Linked DNA regions of Homo sapiens: regions 1, 3 and 4 are each linked to region 2. The links are contacts of gene promoters, found by promoter capture Hi-C in blood cells and fetal thymus (Javierre and others, 2016). All regions are on one chromosome and are shown on one strand. The core of a region is centred on a gene start or on the middle of the fragment in contact, and the rest is flanking DNA. Distances in the headings are between cores, read along the strand shown.

Region 1 (3,391 bases), core at 317-2,816, 310 kb before region 2:
AATCTCCCTGCTGTATTACCACTGTAGAAGACAGAGGAACAAGGAGGATGGCCCCTTCTTTCCCAGTCTTATAGGTTTCATAGTTTTCAGAACAGTTAATTTCTGGCTAATTCCTACCAATCCTTAAAATTTCAGCTTAAATGTCACATCCTCAGAAAAGTTTTTGCTACCCTGCAAGACTAGGTCAGAATCCCCTGTTACCTGTTCTCACAGCCTCATCGACCTTTTCTTCATCTCACCTCACTACATCTCACTGCATCATTGACCTTTCCTTCATAGCAATTATCACATTTAAAATGATTGTTTTGTCTTTACAGTTAGACTGTAATACAGGTTTCTGAGGGGACCCATCTATTTTTGCTCCCAAATGTATCCTAGTACCTGACACACTGTGGCCACTCAATAAATGTTTGTTGAATGAAAAATGAGTAAATGAAAATCCAGTTCCACTTAGGAAAAAGATGCTAGCAAAAGAAAACATAGAAGAGTAAATTGTGCCCCTGGAGGCAAAAATTCAGTATTCTAGTATCAAAGGTCAGAACCAGGCAGTGATGAAGTCAAAATGAGGGGATTTGGGAGATCCGGCAGAGGGTGGTTCAGGCAAGAACTTTGGTCAGTTGCTAGAGCACAGTAGCAGCAGCAGCATGGAGTATCTCAATCCAGTGCTAGGATGCTGTAGCTGACTGAAAGTATTCTGCTTTCAGGGGTTCAGTCCTTCTGGAAATATGCTACAGAACATGTGCACCCATGGTTTCCTTCATTGGGGACAGAGAAGTAGAACTAGGCAGAAAAGAATTTAAGGAAGAACTATAAAAGGCTTTTGAGAGGAAGGGTCTTGCTGGTTCCAAAATAATGTCCTCTCTCATTAAGTGGCTTTCACAAAGCTGCCATTACAATTTCTACATGCAGCCCCCAGATGGCAGCAGTGTGTTACTCTTGGGCTGCCAAGTTCGTGATGAAGTCTCTGCTTTGACATCTAACCTACCATGCCATGACTGCCCCCAGAGCTAGCTTAGATTTGGGTTGTCCTCACACTGTGCTGAGAGGGCTTGCAATGTGTCTTATTTTGGGAATGACCTCATTGGTCTTTCCCTGGCAGCTGGCTCCCATAACCCTGACTCTTGAAGCTGCCCTCCTCTCATTGCCATCCGTGAGTGTCCCCAACCCTGTAGGAAATCATAACCTAATGGTTCCTCTAGCATACTACAGTGAACATGTCCAAAATGAAATTCGTATTTCTCATCTACTCCCCATTCCCCACCCAAGCCTGTGCTTCTCTATAACATTTTGAGCATCTCCCTCCCATTCATGGAGTCCTGGTGAGTCAACCTCTAAACTACTTCAGATCTGTGTCCTCCTCTCCTGTTTGCCAGGCATGGAGCGGATCCTCTCCACCTCTTGCCTAATCCCTAGGTCATCTGCTTATCTCTGTCATCTTTCTCTCACAATCCATCCTTCCACTCTACTCAAACTCCTTCTGAGGACAGGGATGCCCCCTTTTGTTAATCTCTTCAGATTCTACTCTTGCTTTAATGTGCAGACCAACTAGCACTGCCCTCAAAAAACTTTTCTGGGTATCCTCCCAGCCCCGACACCCCCATCATTTTTTCCACTGCCTGTATACAGCACTTTACTTGGACCTCCTTTCATAACTCTAATTGCTAATATTCTGTCTTGTTGATAATCCATTATTTATATACATAAATATGTCACTCTAGCCCTTAGCCAAGGTGGCAACCATGTGGCACAAGTACATCAACACCCCCCCACCAGTACCCAACAAGAGACATCACTGATAGATCTTAGCCATCTTCCCACTGAGCCCAAACCCAATCTCAAAATCCTTCGGGAAACAGTATTCCAGAAGAACTGATCCACAAAATGAAACAAATTTGCCATTCCTGCACTGGACTATCAGCAATAATAGGACAGAAAGTATGCACTGCACCTGTAGTCCCAGCTACTTGGCAGGCAAGAGGATCACCTGAGCCCAGGAGTTTGAGACTAGCCTGGGCAAAATAGTGAGACACCATCTCAATTTTTTAAAAAAGAAAAGAAAGCATGCTCTATTCTTTGAATCTACTACAGCATCTCGTACACGATCTATATTCGTCAAAAGCCTTCTTGAATGAATTAATAAAAGCACAAAGTGGAATAGCATAGACACTGATCATAGGAATGCTGCTCCCAGACTCCATGTTTCAATACTGCTGCTATGAATATGGGTGTGCAAATATCCCAAGACCCTGCTTTTAATGCTTTTGCATAAATACCCAGAAGTGGGATTGCTGAGTCATATGGTAGATCTATTTCTTTTTCTTTTTTCTTTTTTTTTTCTTTTTTTCTTTTTTTTTTTTGAGACGGAGTTTCACTCTTGTTGCCCAGGCTGGAGTGCAATGGCACGATCTCAGCTCACCGCAACCTCTGCCTCCCAGGTTCAAGCAATTCTCCTGCCTCAGCCTCCCGAGTAGCTGGGATTACAGGTGCCCACCACTACGCCCGGCTAATTTTTGTATTTTTAGTAGAGACGGGGTTTCTCCATGTTGGTCAGGCTGGTCTGGAACTCCCAACCTCAGTTGATCTGCCCACCTCGGCCTCCCAACGTGCTGGGACTACAGGCGTAAGCCACCGCACCCAGCCTAGGTAGATCTATTTCTAACTTTTTGAAGAACTACCATTCTGTTTTCCATGGCTGTTGCACCATTTCACAATCCCACAAATAGCACACAAGGATTCTCATTTCCCCACATCCACACCAACACTTTCTATTTTATGGGTTTTTTTTTATAGTGGCCATTCTAATGAGCGTGAGGTGATATTCATTCACTTTTATTGCTAAGTAGTATTCCATGATGTGACTGTACCAAAAATTGTTCAACCATTCACCCACCCATTGAAGGATATCTGAGTTTTTCTAGTTTTTGTAAATTATGAATAAAACCATTATAAACATTTATGTAAAGTTTGTTGTGTGAACATATGTTTTTATTTTTCTGGGATAGAGGCCCAACAGTACAATTGCTGGACCATGTGATAGTTGCATGTTTCGTTTTTAAACAAACTGCCACTCTTTCTCAGAGTAGCTGTACCATTTTATGTACCCACAAGAAATATATGAGTGATATGATTTCTTTGCATCCTTACTATTATTGAGGTGTTGTCATTATTTTTATTTTAGCCATTCTGAGAGGTCTGTAGTAATGTTACCAAAACAGCAGGAGTTCCATCTAGGTCCTGTTTTCTCACTGCACAGAAAGGCAAACACTGAGACAATGAGTATTGCCAAGGAAGAAGGCTTTAATCAGGTGCAGCAGCCAAGGAGACAAGAGATCAGTCTCAATTCCATCTCCCTGACCAACTAAAATTAGGTGTTTGTATAGCAGGGAAGAAG
Region 2 (3,775 bases), core at 16-2,515:
GTCCGATTGCTTATTCAGGGTTTGTTCGCTTGTCCAGGAAACTGGCAACGAGTGTCTTGAAAACAAGAGAAGGGGCAAGTGCCCGTTAGCACCCTTTAGCCTTTCTCCAGAGTCAGACAATCTGGATAAGGCTGAGGGTGCTCTGGGAGGGTTCCCAGGGAGTCAGCGCGCTTTCGAATCCCCATCCCCCAGTCCTGAGCTGTGGGGCTCTGACCCCAGGTCCTCCATCCCTGGACTGACACACCCAGTCTTCCCCCAAATCCCCACGGCACCGTCCCCTTGGTCCCCTTGCCTCTGGAGCGCTCGCGTGTCCCCGAGGGACACACTCTCCCTGCGGTGGATGACCCTGCGCCCACTCTGTCGCAGAACCCCGTTGTTTCTAATGCCCTTCCTCCGCAGCAGCACCCCTTCAACACCCATCACCACCCTCTCTCCCCAGTTGCAGGAGGAAGTCGCTCTGCTTCCTCTGTTCTCACCGCCAGCCCGAGCTTGGGCGCCCGGGGCTTTCTGGGTGGGGTTCTTTTTTGTGTACACAGTGTGTGTATGTGTGCGCGCGAGAGTGTGTGTGCCAAACGCTCATCGCATCCTTCCGCCTAGGCGGCCTCAGGTGCTCGCGGGAGGGGATCAGGATCTCGTCGTGCCCTTGTCCCCGGCTCTTTGTGCCGAGTCCAGAGCAGCGCGAGGTCAGCTCTTTAGCTCACACCCCCGGCCCCGACCCTGGGTGGGAGCCTCCGCCTCCGCCTCCTCCGCAGCCGTCCGAGCCCGGCTTTTGCCCGTCTGCTTCCATCCCGGCGCACGCCTCCGCCGTGCCGGGCGGCCGGAGAGCTGTCAGCCGGCGCCTGGGACTCGGACCCCGGCCGGCGGCTGCCGGTGCGAAAACTTACTGGAGCGGAGAAAGACAGCGCGCGGCGCACCAAGCGGCCGCACTGGCGCCGTTCCTGCCCCTTCCCGCGTCGCTCCCGCCTGGAGCGCGTCCCCCGGGATGCCCCGTCCCCCGGCCACTCACCAGCACCACGGAGCCCCGCACGGCCTCAGACACGCTCTGCCGGAGCTCAGCCGCCGTGCCAGGCTTGCTGAGCCGTTTGGTGAATTTGCGCACTTCGGCCATGGCAGCGGCGGCGGGCGGGTCTCGGCGGGCGGGCGGACCTCGGCGGGCGGGTGGACTCACTGCCCCGGCCCGCGGCGGCCGCGGCCGCTGCTGCTCCCTCTGTTTACTCGCCGGCCGGCCGGCCACATCGCAGCTCGGCGGCGGCGCGGCTCACGCTGCTCCTCCCTCCCACCTCCCACCCGCTGCTCCTCCCTCGTTCCCTCCTTCCCTCCTTTTCTCGCTCGCTTCGCCCGCTCACTGTCCTGCCCCACGGCGTCGGCGGCGGCAGCTCCCTCCCCTAGAGGGCCCGAGCTCCGATCGCCACCAGCCGAAGCAGGAGGGTGTGTCTGATGGGGAAGGGTGTGTAGAGGGGGAGGGAGAACTGGAGGTGGGGGCGAGGGTCACGAGGGAAGAGGGGGGAAGTGGCTACCGCTCGGGCTCCGCCCGCAGCTGATGTTGCTGGTGCAGCCGCATCCGGGAGGGGAGATCTGGGCTGCTTCTTTTTTTCCGCTTGAGTGGGGAGGGCGGGGTGGGGTGGGGGAACAGAGAGGGGTGATGAAATGTCTCCAAGAGTGGGGCGTGCTCCTCTCCCGCCCTAGTGCTCCTCTCCCGCCTCCGAGCTGCAGTGCCCGCAGGAGGGCTGGAGAACTCTCACGTCCCTCCACCCCGCAAGCCCCCAGGGCCCAGGCGGCTAGGGGCTGGAAAACAACGTGGAGCAGCCGCCTTTTGTGTGCTCCTTGGGGAAGGGTCGCACCAATGTCGAAGGACAGAGAGCTGCTTTCCAGCGTGAGCGGCTCGACTGGGTCCCCCTCCTCGCCCACACCGTTTTCCTACTCAGTTGGCTCACCTAACAGGGGGCAACACTGGGGAGAGAGCATGCTTCTGGAAGTGGGAACTTATTGTGGCGGCACCCCTCGCTCCGTCCCCCACGGGGGAGAGCTGGGTGGTGGAGCCTGAGCCTGTGGCAGGTGATCCCTAGGTCAGCACTGACTGCACCAGGAGTGGGGTGGGGGTGGGCATTAGGATGAGCCTGTGGCAGGTGATCCCTAGGTCAGCACTGACTGCACCAGGAGTGGGGTGGGGGTGGGCATTAGGAAGGCCATCTCCCTGGGTTTGGTGGACTTACCAATCTTATAGTAGCTTTTACAAGTGCCCTGCACTCACCTCTCCATTTCCTATTCATCTCCTTACTCTTTTCAGCTTCCAAGAAATTGTTTTTCCAAGAATCAAAGAACATCTCATAACAGGGTATAAAACGAACATGCTTAAGACAGAAATAGGGACGGGAATCTTGAAGTACTAGTGACCCTGTCAGACCTCCTGAAGTGCAGAGTGAAAGGCTCCACTGATGGTGGCAGTTTTCTATCTGGTTATTTCATTTGTTGAGAGTTTGAAAATGGCCCTCAGTCTGGGGGACCGAGCAGCCCTTCTGAAAGCAGTCCTACCACCACCCATCGGGCACTTTCCCCACCCTCAAAGACCAAACAGTCTTTTAGGGGACTTTATTATGGAAACAAGGGCATGCGTGGTGATGGTTTCTTTGAACCCAGAAAAGGCCAAGTCTCTTCGCAGTAAGCCTATTTCAGCCATCCCATCAGTCTCAATAAAGCATATATGGAGGCTCCTAGAGGGCCTGGGACCTGGAAGTCCTCTAAAGACATTCTGTCACAAATCTTAGTTTTGCACAGTACGTGTAAAATTTGTTAATTGTTGCGTGTAGGCTGATCTCCAAGAATTCATACCCTCTGTTCCATAAATGCCTGTGTGGCTCATGCTGTTGGTTACCACCACAATAGCTATAACACTTTTTGCTTGCAAAGAGAGCCCAGATTTACTTCAGATATAGGGCAGAGCCACAGGGTTTAAGGAAGGCAGGCCCAACTCCAGGTGATGAATCATGACTGATGAAAAAACCATGATAAGCTCCCTCTTATTGACTAGTGGGATGGTCTAGACTCCCAATCGGTTTGGGCCAATAAGATATAAGAGGGAAGTGTGAGAGGAGGGTTCCTGGGAAAGTTTTTCTACCTTGATGAAAAAAAAAGGAGAGAGGCCCAGGCCCCACTTTCTTCCTGAGAGGGATGTTTTCTTGCAATGCTTTGGCCCTTGGCAGCCATATTGCAACCATGAGGCAAGGCCAAGGCAATCTCAGAGAAGCCAATGTAGAATCCAGACAGCATTGAACTGTTGAACCAGGCCTGATACTGCCTACCTCTAGTTCCTTTTTATGTAAGAAAAATAAACCCCTGCAGTTTATGACACGTTTAGATGAATATTCTGTTACTTTCAGCCAAAAGCATTCTTAGTACCACAGGCTCTATGGTAGCCACTGAAGGTGCACAGCATTGAACAAGACAGGCAAGGTCCCTCCTCTCCTGGAGCTCACATGTCAGTGCAAAGAAATGAACATGTTAATTTCAGAAACATAAATGCTATGTAGAGAATTAAGGGGAGTTGATAGAGAGTAACTGGAGTTGGGGACCTAGTTTAAAATAGATGATCAAGAAAAGCTTCTTTGAGGAGGTAAACACTGAGCTGAGTCTTAAAGAAGCAGTCAGCAGAGATCAGCAGGTAGACCATTCCAGGCGACAGAAATGCCAGGAACGAAGGCCTAGAGATGGGGGCAGACTTAGTGTGTTCAAAGACCAAAAAAAGGCCAGTGTGGCTGGAGCGTAGAAGGAAGAAGAG
Region 3 (3,471 bases), core at 752-3,251, 270 kb before region 2:
ACTCCTGACTCACCGAAACTGTGAGATGGTAAATGTATGTTGGTTCAAGCCATTAAACTTTGGAGTAATTTGTTATACAACAATAAATAAACGAATACAACCATGCCTGGCACATAACTTGTTGAGCTTCTCAATTAATAGGGAATTGGCTACCTCGACAACCTGTTTGACCAATATACAGCTGTTTAAAAAGTTCTTAAGTTGGTTCTGTGTTGCCCCTTGGAGACACAAAAAGTAAAGCCTATTCCTTCTTGTACCTGACAATACCTCAAATATTAGAAATCAGCAATCATGACTCCTCAAAGTTACTTTACCAATTGTTCCTTGCCAAGTTTTGAGATTCTTCAACATCCTGATTATCCTTTCAAGGATAGATTCCAGTCTGCCAAGGCAACTCCTTTAATGTGGTGCTCAGAATGGAATACTGCACAATTCTGATGTGACCATAGCTCTGTGCCCCAACCTGCAGCATTCCTTTCTGGGTGCTGCACTTATCACTCCTAAGATTGTATATGCCTTTTTGACACATTTAAGATTACAATGTTGAGTCACATTGCACTTATAAAGCCGTGTATCCCACCCCACCACACACACATCCATAAAGCACAGGTCTTTCCAGTCCTGTACTTGAGCCTAGCTTGCTCAGCCTTTCAATTAATAAATGATTTTTTTCAAACTTAGGTACAGGTTTCTATTAAATGGCTCCACTCTTGTTTCTGCCAACCAGCATGTAGGACAGTCTCTAGTATTGTACAATGTGCAAATTTTATTATGCCTGCCTTTTTTTTTTCTTCTTCCTTGAGACGGTCTCACTCTGTCGCCCAGGCTGGAGGGCAGTGGCACAATCTCAGCTCACTGTAACCTCCGCCTCCCAGGCTCAAGAGATCTTCCCATCTCTGCCTCTTGGGTAGCCAAGACCACAAGCGTGCACCACCATATCTGGTTAATTTTTGTATTTTTTGTAGAGATGGGGTTTCACCATGTTGCTCAGGCTGGTCTCCAACTCCTGGGCTCAAGCGATCCTCCTGCCTCAGCCTCTCAAAGTGCTGGGATCACAGGCGTGAGTCACTGTGTGCAGCCTATGCCTGCTTTCTATATTTTTGTTCAGTTTGTTAATAAAAATGGAAATGAGATAGAAAAGAACATAAAACCATTTGGATTATGGTTTTCTAAATAACTGTATACTGTCAATTAACCCTGGGTGGTTTGAAAGTGATTAAGAAGAAAATAAATTTCAATTGTAAGTACTCTTTTCCTGACATCAAGAGAGCATGACAGTCCCTTTCCCCAGTCTATTTTCTGCTTCAGCTTAGTTTTTATACATCAGTGTTTTAAATTTTAATAAAAATTCTGTTCTCTTACCTATACTCATTTCTTGGCTCCAATTACTCCAGAGTTTGTCATCCTCATAGCATAACTTATTTGTTTTGACTCTTATTCTGACTGTGTTCAAAGTATCAGGAAGAACACCAGGGACCATGAAACAAGATGTATTCTTAGGCATAAAATAAAAATACACAAGGAATATTACCAGTTTATTCTTTTTCACTGTTATTGAATCATAATACAATTATCTGCCAAATTCTGTCTATGATTAAGACTTGGATTGCAATTCAAATTATCTTTGACTTTTCGAAAAAATTGTCAATAACTCACGGAACAACGTAATTTGTTTTTCTCAAAGCAGCTCATATTTAGGCTATGCTCCACCCCCAACTGCTCTAAGTCTAAACCCAAATAGCTAATGTTGAATTTACTGACCTCCACATTTCTCTCAAATTCTGGATTCTCACATTTAGCCTCTTGGACCTTGAAAATAAAAATAAATAAATAAACTAATGAGTCCTAAATGTTTAAAAACCCATTTTCTATCACCTAGTCATTTCTAACAAGCTTTCCTTTTATCCCATTAAAAGATGATCAGGTACAGTGAAAAAAGGTTGGCCTTTTTTAATAAATGGTGCTGGGTCAATTACATATGCATATGAAAAAAAAAAAGATTCTTGACGCCCTACCTCATACTATTCACAAAATCAGTTCCTGATATATTGCAGATTTAAATGTGTAAGATAAAATGAATTAATAAATACATAACTATAGCAAGCTTTTAGATAAAAACAGAGAATATCTTAATGACCTTGAAGAAGGGAAATATTTCTTAAACAAGACCAAAAAAACCTCCCATATTAACCATAAAGAGAATTTTTTAATAAAGTCATCCATATTAAAATTAAAAACATTTGTTGATCAAATGACACCTTATAGGGAAATAAACAGGCAATGCATAGAGTGTGAGAACATATTTGCAATTTCTGACAAAGGACTTGCATATGTATTTTTTCTTACCCTACTAATAAGGCAAAAACAGAAAACCCAATTTTAAAAAAACTGGCAAAAGACTTGAACAGGCACTTCATAAGAGGATAAGCAAGTTGCGAATAAACATCTGAAAAAGTGTTCAACATCACTGGTCATGAGAAAAATGCAAATTAAATCCACAAGATAACAATACACACACTTACCTGACAACAACAAGTGTTGTGAGGATATGAAGCATCTAGAACTCACAATTTCTGCTTAGTAGTGTAAACTGGCACAACCATCCAGGAAAACTGTTATTATCTACTAGAGACAATCATATGTAACCTTATGACCCACATATGCCTATATAAATGCCCCATACAAATGTACGCACATGTGTACCAAGAGACAAGTATGTGAACGTTCATAAGAACTCCATTCATAAAACCAAATGGGAAACTATCCAAACGTCCATCAATGGGAGAATGGATAAAGTATGGTATATTCACACAATGGAATGAATGTAGTGAGAACGTGCCATCTACAGCTATAAGAAACAACATTGGTGAATCTCATAAACATAATGTTGAGTGAAAAAAAGGGCAAACACACAAAAAAGTACATTCTGGGCCAGGCACAGTGGCTCACGCCTGTAATCCCAGCACTTTGGGAGGCTGAGGAGGGTGGATCACATGAGGCCAGGAGTTCGAGAGCCAGGAGCCTGCCTAACATGGCGAAACCTCGTCTCTACTAAAAAATACAAAAAAAAAAAAAAAGCTGGGCTTGATGGCATGTGCCTGTAATCCCAGCTACTCCGCACGCTAAGACAGGAGAATCGCTTGAACCCGGGAGGTGGAGGTTGCAGTGAGCTGAGATTGCGCCACTGCACTGCACTCCAGCCTGGGTGACAGAGCAAGACTCTGTCTCGAAAAAAAAAAGTACGTTCTATATAATTCCATTTATATAAAGTTTTAAAGTAGCAACAAAATCAATCTATGGGATTAGAAGCCAGGAGAGTAGCTGCTCTTTGGGAGGACAGCAACTGAAGGGGGCTTCTGTGGTGCTGGTTACATAGGTGAAAAATCATTTGTGAAAAATCATTGAGCTATAGGTTATGATTTGTGTAATTTTGTTCATGTATTATAACTCAGTAAAAACTTTTTAAAAAGA
Region 4 (3,704 bases), core at 631-3,130, 480 kb before region 2:
TCAGGAGGCTGAGGCAGGAGAATGGCGTGAACCCAGGAGGCGGAGGTTGCAGTGAGCCGAGATTGCGCCACTGCACTCCAGCCTGGGTGCGAGAGGGAAACTCTGTCTCAAAAAAAAAAAAAAAAAAAAGAAAGAAAACAGAAAGAGAGAGAGAGAGAAAGGAAGGAAGGAAGGAAGGAAGGGAAGAAAGAGAACGTTTATATAGTGCTACATGCCAGACACTGTTCTAAGTACCTTACATTATTAGCTTATGTAATCCTCACAACAGCCCTCTTTAGTAGCTGCTTTGAATATCCCCCATTTAACAGATGAGGAGATGAAGTACTGGGAAGTTAAGTCATTTGCCCAGGGCCACAAAGGTCATAAAAGTTAGCAGAGTTGGGACATAAACCCAGGCAGTCTGGCTCCCAAGTGCATATTCTAGAGAGTCACTATGCCCAGGCTGCTCTGAAGGTCATGAGTTGAAGACTGAATTGGGGAAGAATCCAGCTCCCTTGCAGACCTGAGTCACTCTTTGCCCAGGGATCTTTACCCTGGCTCCTTTGCAAAGTCTTCTTCCTGTTCTGCTTGAGCTCTAGTGCCCCTATGCTCCAGGGAGGCAGCCCTTCCTGCCAATACCTGTCTACAGTACAACCCCTTCCCACCTCTTCCATCCCACACTCACCTTAAAACCCATCGGGCGGAGCTTACATGCTATTTCTGCATCATGCAGTGCATTCTCATGAGACTCCAAGGTGAAATAAATCTGAGACCGATTGCTATAAAGCAAGTGGTCATTTGGAGCTGTCAAAATAAGAAAGAAAAACCTTTATTAATGGCCCCCAGCGCAAGCAGGTGTTAAGTCCTGTATGAGTATGGATCTTGAGCAAATGATAAGTTTTCTAGGACTTTTCTACTGGAGATCAAAAGGGTTAGGCTCTATTTCTAGTCCTAATATTGTCCTGCCTTCTATACCCCCAGCCACTCTGGGCCTGAGGTTCCCCAACTGCAAAGTCATTTTTGCCCCCGCTCACAAGTGGTTCATTAGAGGCCCCGTGGTGTCAGTGGTGCATTAGACACTTTGACATAGGCGAGATGTGGCTACACACGGCTAGTGTCCGGCAGCCTGGTTTATGAGTGCAGTATTACCAACAAGAAAACAGGCCAGGTAGGAAGGAGAGAGAGGTGGGCAGATGTGACCCCTATCTGAACCACCAAGAAGACAAATCCAAGTTACTTTTCCAGGTGGGAATGACTGATGACATTAGTAACACCTTTGTCTACAAAGCCCAGCACATATGAAGATTTCTTGAAGAAAATGGAAATACATTTACATGGTCCCATCCTCTCATTTCAAATGGCCAAATGTAAATGAACTTGGACAAGGTTTCTGGGAATAAGGTGAGGCCGGCTCTCACCAAAAACTCTGAATTACTAGATGTCAGAGCTGGACAGGCTATTAGAGATTATCTGGCTCAATCAACCCATTCTTCAGATGGGAAAATCAAGCCCAGAGAAGGGAAGGCATTTTCTCAAGGTCACACGGCTAGCTGGGCAGTCACTGATAACTGGTCAGACTTTGAAGCTTTGAAGCTGGGATGTGGGGAGCAGGTTCCTTTTTCTGAAGGTGTGTGCAGTACTTGGAATAATACGGACACAATGGCCATCTTCCAGAACAGAGAGCCTCCTTTCCTCTTAGAAGGGTAAAGCTGGCCTTGACATTTTCACCCTGACTTCTCTGAGGGGATTAACAAAGATGCAAGGAAGAACTTCCAGGGGAATGTGGTGGCAACAGAGGAGAAGGGTGAGGGCAGGAAGGGGCTTTCCTGGCCCCTGGGGGATGGCTAAAAGGTATGGAATCTGCCTTAGAGATCTAGAGTTAAGTGACCTCCACCTGCCTCATTCATATTGCCCTGCTCTTCCCCAAGATCTGGGATCTAGCTTCCTCTGTGGCAACAGGCTTTGATGTTTTTTTTTTCCCCAGGGGTGTGCTCAGGGCTTGCTTGCGTGCCCATTACTTGCTCTTAAGACATTAGCAAATTGTTTAGTCTTTTCTGTCTTTTTTCTTCTGCAGCACACTCCAGCCTGGTGGCAGCTCACAGTCTGCCTTGCTTGTGCACAGACAGGAGCTAGAAGGGTCCCCTTCTCCGGCTGCCAGCCTTGCCCCTTCAGTCCTCATTCCTCCTCCTCCTCCCCCCATTACCTGTTGCAAGCTTGAGTGGAGATTAAACACGTGGAGACTCCGGCCCACACCCCTCCTCCACTCCACAGAGTCAGGTCCAGGACACCCTCGGATCCCAGGGCCCTGCCTGCCCAGCCCTGCTGCCTCCTCCCCGGCATGCTTCGCCAGACACCGCGCCCCACGGCCGAGCTCCTGGCAAACTGCCAGAGCTGGGCAACACCGGCTGGCGGCTCAGCAGCCACTTCCTGGGTCCAGGCGTGGTGGGTCAGAGAGCGGCTCCCTGGGGAAATTCGGGTGCCCTAGTCTAGCTGGAGATGGGGGACTGCCCACGTTACCCTTGAAGCTGCAAAGCCCACCCAACCCTCCCAGGCGGCACTGAAAAGCGGGACAGAGGCGTGACCCATTCGTAGCCAGCCCACGGTCCCCAGGGATCCCCAAGCAGTTGCCGCGCCGGCCTCCCGCCGGGCTGGCCAGGTTAAAGGGGTTGGAGGCGAGGGCACAGGCTACGGGTTGGCGGGGCGGGCAAGGGGGGGCATCTATTTCAGCCGAGGATCGTGTGATAGGAAGCGGTGACAATGAGTCACAGGGCAGCGGGGCGCAAGCGCTCCCCCTCCCCCCGCACATGCTCGTGGGATGGTTTCCGAAGCGAGCGTGGTGGCCCACTTCAGTTACCTCAGCGGTTACACAATCCCGCCCGCTCGCGCGGGGGAGGGGCGCCCGACCCGGGCCGCTCGCGGCCCTTATGCAACCAGTGCTCTCCTGACCTAATTCCATGCCGGACCCACCCCACAGGGAGCCGCGGCCCCGGAAGGGGCAACACCCGGCGGCGCGAGCGGCGGACGCAGGCGCCGACCGGACATCTCCTGCTGGCTACAGCCCAGAGGACCGGGCGCAAGTGCGAGGAGCGCGCGAAGTTCCTCTCCTCGCTGGGAAGGTGCGAGCAGGTGTAAGAGGAGACCAGGAGTGCAGCGGGAGAAGGAGAGTCAGAGGAACAGAGACAGTGACACCGAAAAAGAAAGAAACAGTGACAAAGATACGAAGAGACGGAGAAAAAGAACCAGAAGCAAGGAGACACAGACAGGAACGGGGACTGAGAGACAGGAACACAAAAGCTAACAGAAGTAGCAGGAAAAGACAAAAAGCAACCGAGATCAACACAAACACAGTGAAACACAGATAAGCAGTGAAAACAGAACAAACTCAGAGACCCAGCCCCAGAATCACCCCTCCCCCACCCCGCCACAGTCCATGGGTCCCCCGCCCCCTCTTCTGCCCTGGTCCAAATCCCTTCTCGCTGCGGGGTTTGTTCTCCCGCTCCCTCATGTAGCCACCGAGCCCCAGCCCCGGCCCGGCAGCGCGTTGGACTCACCCAACTTAACTGCCTCGTTGTACTTGAGCAGTGCCGCCTCCACCTGGCGCTCGCGGTACAGTCGGTTGCCCTCGTGCCGGAGTTGCGACGCTCGCGCTGGGCCTGGAAACAACTTGCCGAGGAGGCCGCTGAGCACCACGTTGACTCGCAGCGGCGGCGGCGGCTGCTGCCCAG

What was found. The method cuts DNA at HindIII sites, captures the fragments that hold promoters and counts their contacts. A CHiCAGO score of 5 or more calls a contact.
Region 1: a fragment that was not itself captured here is called in contact with the fragment with the promoter of DOCK11 in region 2 in 5 of 17 cell types (neutrophils, M0 macrophages, monocytes and 2 more); the score reaches 11.3 in neutrophils.
Region 3: a fragment that was not itself captured here is called in contact with the fragment with the promoter of DOCK11 in region 2 in 3 of 17 cell types (monocytes, naive B cells and total B cells); the score reaches 8.2 in monocytes.
Region 4: a contact is called between a fragment that was not itself captured here and the fragment with the promoter of DOCK11 in region 2, in 1 of 17 cell types (activated CD4 T cells). The highest score is 5.3, in activated CD4 T cells.

What each region holds. Positions count from the first base shown.
Region 1 is chrX:118,805,115-118,808,505 of GRCh38, reverse strand. It overlaps a transcript of IL13RA1 not described here. Among named protein-coding and RNA genes, the nearest start is that of ZCCHC12, 17 kb to the left of the region's middle. The HindIII fragment of the contact is 5,226 bases long and covers 1-3,391 here.
Region 2 is chrX:118,493,305-118,497,079 of GRCh38, reverse strand. DOCK11 (dedicator of cytokinesis 11) reads right to left here and starts at 1,265. Exons shown (of 53, transcript NM_144658.4): 1 at 1,007-1,265. The coding sequence starts at 1,108. RefSeq lists silencers at 738-797, 968-1,027, 1,118-1,197, 1,308-1,447 and enhancers at 477-1,455, 1,858-1,927. The HindIII fragment of the contact is 5,195 bases long and covers 1-3,599 here.
Region 3 is chrX:118,764,868-118,768,338 of GRCh38, reverse strand. IL13RA1 (interleukin 13 receptor subunit alpha 1) reads right to left here. Exons shown (of 11, transcript NM_001560.3): 7 at 1,762-1,809; 8 at 1,363-1,495. Among named protein-coding and RNA genes, the nearest start is that of IL13RA1, 39 kb to the right of the region's middle. The HindIII fragment of the contact is 211 bases long and covers 1,896-2,106 here.
Region 4 is chrX:118,975,424-118,979,127 of GRCh38, reverse strand. LONRF3 (LON peptidase N-terminal domain and ring finger 3) reads right to left here. Exons shown (of 11, transcript NM_001031855.3): 1 at 3,531-3,704; 2 at 665-783. Among named protein-coding and RNA genes, the nearest start is that of LONRF3, 2.7 kb to the right of the region's middle. The HindIII fragment of the contact is 628 bases long and covers 1,567-2,194 here.